2 separate regions of the Homo sapiens genome follow, and region 1 is linked to region 2. The links are contacts of gene promoters, found by promoter capture Hi-C in blood cells and fetal thymus (Javierre and others, 2016). All regions are on one chromosome and are shown on one strand. The core of a region is centred on a gene start or on the middle of the fragment in contact, and the rest is flanking DNA. Distances in the headings are between cores, read along the strand shown. Region 1 overlaps NARS2 (asparaginyl-tRNA synthetase 2, mitochondrial). Region 2 holds the start of GAB2 (GRB2 associated binding protein 2).

Region 1 (4,039 bases), core at 1,503-4,002, 58 kb after region 2:
TAACTAACAGTGCAGTCTGCATAAAGGACAACAGTTTCTCTTTCGCCATCTCCCTGTTTTTTCTTTTCTCTTTACTGTTTTTAGGATTAACTCAATAGTAGATTCAGCTACACCAGTATTTTCAGAAGTTTCAGTGCCAATGCCTTAAAAGGCATGTAACAGCAGAAAGGTGATGCCAAAGTGGTAGAGAGGGCACCACCACACAATCTATTTCTCAACTTGATACCTCTGATGTTGATGACTTAATAATCACTGTCATCAGACCAGCACCATCTCATTATGCTTTCAGTGGCTACCCCGCACATTTTAACATGCATATCTGACTTAACAGTCTAAAGCAGCCGGGTGTGGTGGCCTGCACCAGTTGTCTCAGTTACTCGGGAGGCTGAGGCAGGAGGATTGCTTGAGCCCAGGAGTTCAAGGCTGCAGTGAGCTATGATCACACCACTGCCCTCCAGCCTGGAAAACACAGCAAGGTCCTGTCTCTTAAAAACAAAAAGTCTAAAGTTCACCAGTTTCTCTCTCTTCCTTTCAAACAACAAAAGGACTAACATTTCAACTATCAACGTGCCTCTCCAGTTTTACAAGTTATTGCTGCCCAGTATTTCAGTTCTAAGGTAACAGGTATTTTCTTTCAACTATGTGAAGATACTATTTTATCAATCTATTGTCATTACTGTTCTTTGAACTTCTTGGGAATCTAATGCTGTTTGTTATGTCTGCTGTTCTTGCTCATGGTAGGTATTTCCCTGTGTATTTGGAGTGTGAGATTATCTTCAGTAGAGTTTGTTTTGAGAATATCATGCCACTTGGGTTGAGGGTACAAACTTCAAGTTTGGTTTTATATTGATTTCTATAGCTACTCCAGCATTATCACCAACTGAAGACAATTTTTTATTTTAATGCCCTGGCATGAAGATTCTTGAACTACACAGGAAACATAAATTCAAACTCTAGGCTCACTTAAGGGCCAACTGTGGCTGCAAATTCTCAATGAAGACTATTTCTGTTTTGTCTCTATCCTTAAGCCCAGGCTAAAGCAGATATACTTCTACACTTCTTTGTAAATTCTCTATGCTGGCTAGCTCAATTTTCTGTTTGTTTGCTTATTTTCTAATTGGCCCTTTCATTAAGGGTGTAGTCCTTGACCAGTTCTAGCTTTGTGTGTATATCTGTGCATGCATTTCAGGGGATATCTTGATTCTAATTCATTCTGCTACGTCTATTCTCATGTCATCTCATTGCTGTTAAAATCTCTGGTTTCAAAAACTGGAAAATCGCCCTCCAGCTTCCCTACCCTACACCCTGAGAATCCTCAGCATCACACCAACTGTCCATATCACTCTGGTGTTTGGTTCCTTCTTCATTTCTAGCACCTGGAACTTCTCCTACTTTCTAGTGAATTCAACAACGTATTTAAAAGAATCTTATAATATTTTAAGTATTATTTTTAGATGTTTTGCAGAAAGAGTGTTTTCAAATTACCTAGTCTGACATATTGCTTTTAACAGTATTGTCATTAAATCCTTTCAACAATATAAGGCAGAGTATTTTTTTATAGATGAGGAAACTGAAGTTCAGAAAAGTTAAAGATTCACTATTAATCAAGTTCATAGTCGTAATTACATTATTCATATAAATATTTAACTGTTCATCTTTTTCTCTAGATTTTCAACTCCATAAAAAAATAAATCAATGTTTGTTTTCATTATTCTCAAGAACTAGCAAAGTGCCTAACTCATATTAGGCAGTCAATAAATATTTGTTAAAAAATAATAATTTACTCATTAATGGCTAGTAAATGGTAGGGCCAGGATTAGAATCCAGGTTTTCTGAATCATGGTTCACTACCCTCAGTGACTGAAATAAATAGTGATATTAGCCAATAAGAAACCTCAGGAGAGGATCCAGCCTAAAGAATACCTTTACAGCCACAGTTACTCAAGTCACTTGTTTGTCCACTCAATTACTCAGTATTTACTGAGTTCCTGTTAAAGGCACTGGGCTAAGTCCTGGGGGTATAAGAGTAAGCAATTTAAACATAGCCTCTGACATCACAGAGGTAGTAGATACCAATCAAATAATCACACATATACATTTATTTAAAAATGTCTGAATTTTTAATTGACAAATATTTTATGTATTTACAGGATACAATGTGTTTTTGGTATTATACACTGTGGGATGAATATATCAAGGTAATTAACATATCTATCGTCTCACATGCTTCACTTTTTTTTTTGCAGTGAGAAGATTTAAAATCTACTCCTTTAGCAATTTTGAGATATACATTACAATTAATTATGGTCACTTTGTTATGCAATAAATCCTGAACACTTATTCCTCTGGTCTAACTGAAACTTTGTACCCCTTGGACAATTTCTTTCCATTCCCTTCAAGAACCCCTCACCGGCCACTGGTAACTACCATTCTACTCACTACTTCTGTAGTGTTAACTTTATTACATTTCACATCAAAGTGAATCATGCAGTATTTGTCTTTCTGTGCCTAGCTTCTTTCACTTAGCATTAAGTCTTCCAGGTTGATCCATGCTGTCACAAATAAGATTTCCTTTGAATAGTATTCCACTGTGTATATATATACACATTTACTTTATCCAGTCACCTACTGATGGACACTTAGGTTGATTCCATATCTTGGCTACTATGAATAGTGCTGCAAAGAACATGTAAGTGCAGATATCTCTTTGACATACTGACTTCAGTTCTGCATATGTACCCAGAGGTAGGATGGCTGAATCATATGGTAAATATACTTTTGGTTTTTTGAGAAACCTCCCATACTATCCTCCATAATAGCTCTACTAATTTACATTGCCACTAACAGTTATAAAAGGGTTCCCAAGCGCCACATCTTTGCCAACACCTGTTATCATTTGACTTTTTTTTTTTTTTTTTTTTTTTTTTTTTTGAGACAAGGTCTTGCTCTGTCTCCCAGGCTGGAGTGCAGCAGCGTCTGTGATCATAGCTCACTGAAAACTCAACCTCCTGGGCTTAGGCAATCCTCCCACCTTAGTCTCCTGAGTAGCTGGCACTACAGGCACATGTCACCACACCTGACTAATTTATTTATTTATTTTTTGTAGAGACAGGGTCTCACTAAGTTGGCCAGGGTGGTCCTGAACTCCTGGGTTCAAGTGATCCTCCCACCTCAGCCTCCCAAAGTGCTGAGACTACAGGCATGAGCCAACGTGTCTCATTCTACTTTTTGATAACAGCCATTCTAACAGGTGTGAGTGGTTATCTCAGTGCGGTTTTAATTTGCATTTTATTGATTAGTGATGTTGGACACTTTTTGATAAACCTATTGGCCATCTGTATCTTACACAAATGTAAAACATTTGTGATGTCTGCCTGCCTGAGCAAAGCATGGGGGTGGATGCTGAGGCTAGGTGGGGTGGCTGCCCTGTAGGGGCTCAAACCAGATAGACTTTCCTACTGAGCTTCTGCAGCAACCAGCTAGGCTTTGTAAATGGGCTATGCCACTGGCTGGTATCTCTGATCAGGTGCTACTGCTGGCAGGAACACAGCTATGACTAAGATCCGTGTACTGGTTGCTGTGAGCACTGCCCCACTCCTTTGTTCCTACTTGACCCCTGGTAGTCTAGGCCTTACCCCCAGGGTTCCCTGTGAGACAGGAATGGGCCTCCTAGGAAGCATCACAGAATGCTGGGGAAACTGGATAGCTGTCTCTTTTTCCACTGCATTAACTGTGTGCCAAGGGGAATCTTCTGTGTGTGGTATTGTGCCTACTTAGGGAAGGGAGGATTCAGTCAAACTGAGACCATTGCTCCTACCCTTCTAATGCACTTTTTGCTCTGTGGTCCATCTGCGTGTCTCAATTTCATTCCCAAATTTTGGGATTTTCAAAAAGGTGTTCTTGTATGTGACTAGTTGCCAAATGGACTTTCTGTGGTGAAGGCTGGGACCCTCTATTCATCATCTTGCTGATGTCCCTCTCCCCACAAATTTAAACTGCAACTATGATTTGTAGTATGCAGAATGGATTATGACAATGA
Region 2 (3,837 bases), core at 1,285-3,784:
CTACAATATAACACGCCTATGATGTATACCAGAAGCAGCAGCTACTTTGGGGTAAATATACAGCCATGGGGCTGGGAAATACTTTCCAAGCTTGGTTCTAATGAACTCGGGCCTCTACTGAAATAAGCAAACTAGCAGAGTTTTAACTTACAACAGGATGCAAAAATTCTGAATACCCCAAAAGAAAAGTAGATGTAAAGGCATACTGTTCCCCAGAGGCTTAAGGTTACACATATCACCAGTTTCAGTTAGGGGGAAACTGAACTTCCGAAGGGGCAGAGGCTTCCAGTCATGTAAGTGAACACATCACATCCTAACCTAAGAAAAGCTGTTACTTAAAGCTGTTAAGGTCTGACACCTGATGGGCTGAAGGTACATGGAAGATGGGAAAGAGAGGCTAAGGCCATCATACGACTAGATTCGTTCAAATCAGTGAAAAAGGTGCTTGACCCAAATGCCTCCAAACCTGGTTATTTTGAACTAAAGTTGTTTGGGAACAAAAACACCCAAGAAATGGGTCATAGAGTCTGGGTGAGAGTTCAAGGAGCGATAAGTCAAATGTAGATACAGTGTCATACTGTTTGCAAATTGTTTCAAAAACAACTTTCAAGGTTCTTTAGTGTATAGTGTTCAAACTTGAAAATTAAGGGTCACTTTTTTTTTTTTTTTTTTTACTGTGGACACTGTATTCCACTAGCTTGTATGGAAATCTATTTGTATAGATAATTTTTGGAAGCTCTTCGGGACAAAGTTTTTAAATTATTTATAAAATTGTTAATAGTAAATCACTGCTCCTTAATCCTAATTAAAATATTCAACCTTCCTAACGAACTGATACAACCCTGAAGAGGAAAAAAGTTTATTTCTTAATAATTATACTTTGGCTACATAGACACTCCTAAAAATGAGCTTCCGAACTGAGATGAACAATTCACTGCTTCATTCCTCCTATAAATCCACGTCCACTTTCAAAACTCATGTGCTAAATCCTTAGATTTTTTTCCCCCAGCAAACATCTACCTAAGAGCCTGATTTCATTGACACACACTTGTACTCCGCAACAACAACACTTCCTTTGAAAAACAGAATGTCACTTCCTCAGTCCAGAGGCCAGAAGTCCCTTGATTCTGATCTGGGGAGCCAAGACAGGAAATTCTGGTAGGCTTCTGCCTCTCCCCCCATGGACAGCCACTGGTGCAGCTGACAGAGGGCAGGGTCTATTCCGAGCTCCCTTGATGCACTGCAGCTGGAGGCAACGGCTCCCTTCCAGGCTGTGGGAGTGATCCCGGAGTTCGGCACCACAGCCCGTTAAACAAGGGCATTTCATGGGAAACGGAGAGGGAGCAGATGAGAGACCTTGAAACCTTCCAGCAACCTTACCCCCACTTCCAAACTCCCGCGACTACCCCAAGACCATTTCGGCCAAATCTCAGTAACTGGCACCATCTTGTACTTTGACCTCACCAGGCAAGGCATCCTCTGGGGAGAGGGGTTAAAAAAAAAAAAAAAAAAAGCCAGAACTCCACGGCTCAGCGCCACGCTGTTCCACCTCCCCCAGGCTGCCAGTTCCCCACCTAGAGGGAAAAGGCTGTTCCAGCGATCTCAGTAAACACTGTCGGTTGGCAACACCTGGCCGCGGAGAGCCTCGATCTCTCCCGACCCCAGACACCCGGGAGCTGCCCGGTCCCAAACCCGGGCCAGCCACGGGGACCAAACTGCAGTGTCACACCGGGGTCGGGGGGAGGCGCCTGTGAGAGACGAACGGAATAAAGGGAAAGAAGGGGGACAAACAAATGAGTCACTTAATACAAGGGCTGCACATGCCGCTGACGCTGCCGGTGATGCAGCCGCGGACGGAGGGAGGCCGGCGGCCGGGAGGGGCAGGCGGAGAAAGGGAAGGAGAGGGCGTGAGGCGCTCGCCCTTTGTGGGGCCGTCCGCGCGGCCCCACAGCCTACGCCCCCCTTTCCCGCCCTCTCCCCGACCCTGCGGGCTGAAGCTGCTCGGGGCTGCCGCGGAGCCCCAGCCCCGAGAGTCAACTCTCTCGGTCTCCAGAAGCCATCAATACAAAACTTCGACACTGTATTTAGTTCACGAGCAGACCGGCTTGGGAGGCGCCGCAGCCGCACCCGCCTGGCGGAGCAGGAGCCGCAGCCTCAACCTGCCGCCCGCCCCGCCCCTCGGCGGCCCACCTGTGACAGGTGTGCAGGTGCCCCACACGCCCCCGGCCGCTCCTCGCCCCCGGCCCCCCGCGGCTCCGGGCCCGAGCTCCCCAGCCTGCCGCCCCTCCGGGAGTCCCCCGCCCCTCCGCAGGCCCCGGAGCGCCCCCCGCCCGCCCCTGGGCGGCCGCGCCCGCACTCACATAGCGCCTCAACTTCTTCTCGGGAGGCGATTTCCTCAGCCAGCCGGTGCACACCACGTCGCCGCCGCCGCTCATGCTGCCGGCCTGGAGCCCCCCGCCGGGTCGCGCGGACGAGGGCGCGGGCTCGGGCAGCTGGGGCAGCGGCCGGCGGTGCGCAGCTCGCGGGAGGCCAGGGGCGGGGCGGGCGGCCCGGCGGGGACTAGGCGGCGCGGCGCGGCGCGAGCCCGGCAGCCTCGCGCGCGCCCGCTCCCCCGCCCCGAGCGCGCGCAATCCGCACTCTCCGCCCGGCCGCCGGGGGAGCAGCTGCAGCAGGAAGGCCGGCTCGCTCGCCACGCCCGCTCCCGCCGCGCCCCCGAGGCCGCCGCGCACGCGGACGCGGGGCTAGGGACCCGCGAGGATACAGAAAGCCACCGCCGCCGGCGCGCCCCGGAGTCTCGCTTTCTCCTGAGGCCCCAAGCCGCGGGCGCGGAGGCCAGGGAGGCGACCGCGCCCCTGGCGCTGGCGGGTGTGAGGGGAAGGGACTGCGCGCCCTCGGTCGTCGATCGATTTTTCACCGAGCGTCGACGGGGAAGGGATACTAGGGCTGCTCACATTTCCGATACATTCTGCGGGTCAGGTTCCGGCTGAAAGGAGGGACCCCTTCCCAGCAAGAAGCTCCTTAACTCTGGCGTCCCTCGGCGGGAGGAGGAGACGGACCTACTACGCGCCGGAGCCTTTGCTTTTGTAGCTTACAGGATTGTCTTCAGTATTGTTCCTATTTTATGGACAGCCTAAGGGCAAGGGCTTGTACAAAGCCGAGCCAATTTTCCAATTCAGGTGTGTGGGGGAGGAGGGGTCCCGGTCATCTGCTATTCAAAATGAGGGCATTGCCTTAATGGGATCGACCTGGGAGCCTCTCATTGCCTGGAAACCAAGTCCAGCTGACTCCCTCCTACACTGCCTCTGGGAAAACACAGTTTAGTATAGAAAATTCGCATGATTTGTAGAATGGAAGAAGCAAAACTAGTCAATGTATTTCATAACGAATTGGAAGGCAAGGTCAAGTGCAGAAGAACAAGAAATTGGGGTCCAAATTCCCCAACGTTCCCGCTCATTGACACAGGCTATGAGACCTCTGTTTGTAAATATAATGGTATCCCAGATGTACGTGGAAGCACACAACCCCAGCACTTCAGCGGGAGGGGGGAGAAAAAAATCTTTTGTACGAGCTCTTTTCTCATCACAAAGTGTCTCTCTAAGCAGCATTAAAAGGCAGGTCCTCCCTAACTTCTCTGATAAGTGGATAGTAACCTGTTTATTCAATGGGGAACCGTGCTGTGTGGACAGATGAATTGGAGAAGCAGCATCTTGCAGTGCCCCACACAACCTCAGACTAAAGCTGTTTTGTTTATTTCTGTCTCTGTGCAGCTGAGTTGTTTCAAGCAGTTGGACATCATTTGGTCCAAAAGATCTTGATTGGGTTGGGGGAAGTTCACCC

Evidence for each region. Contacts are between HindIII fragments. The CHiCAGO score rates a contact against its expected background, and 5 or more counts as called.
Region 1: a contact is called between a fragment that was not itself captured here and the fragment with the promoter of GAB2 in region 2, in 2 of 17 cell types (total B cells and naive B cells). The highest score is 9.3, in total B cells.

What each region holds. Positions count from the first base shown.
Region 1 is chr11:78,472,680-78,476,718 of GRCh38, forward strand. All of the region lies in intron 9 of NARS2 (asparaginyl-tRNA synthetase 2, mitochondrial), which reads right to left. It overlaps LOC105369403 (a long non-coding RNA gene), which reads left to right. Exons shown (of 2, transcript XR_007062798.1): 1 at 1-617. Among named protein-coding and RNA genes, the nearest start is that of LINC02728, 45 kb to the left of the region's middle. RefSeq lists an enhancer at 364-658. The HindIII fragment of the contact is 8,270 bases long and covers 1-4,039 here.
Region 2 is chr11:78,415,286-78,419,122 of GRCh38, forward strand. GAB2 (GRB2 associated binding protein 2) reads right to left here and starts at 2,535. Exons shown (of 10, transcript NM_080491.3): 1 at 2,361-2,535. The coding sequence starts at 2,435. RefSeq lists silencers at 1,138-1,432, 1,895-2,024, 2,095-2,194, 2,305-2,924 and an enhancer at 1,521-2,275. The HindIII fragment of the contact is 5,597 bases long and covers 89-3,837 here.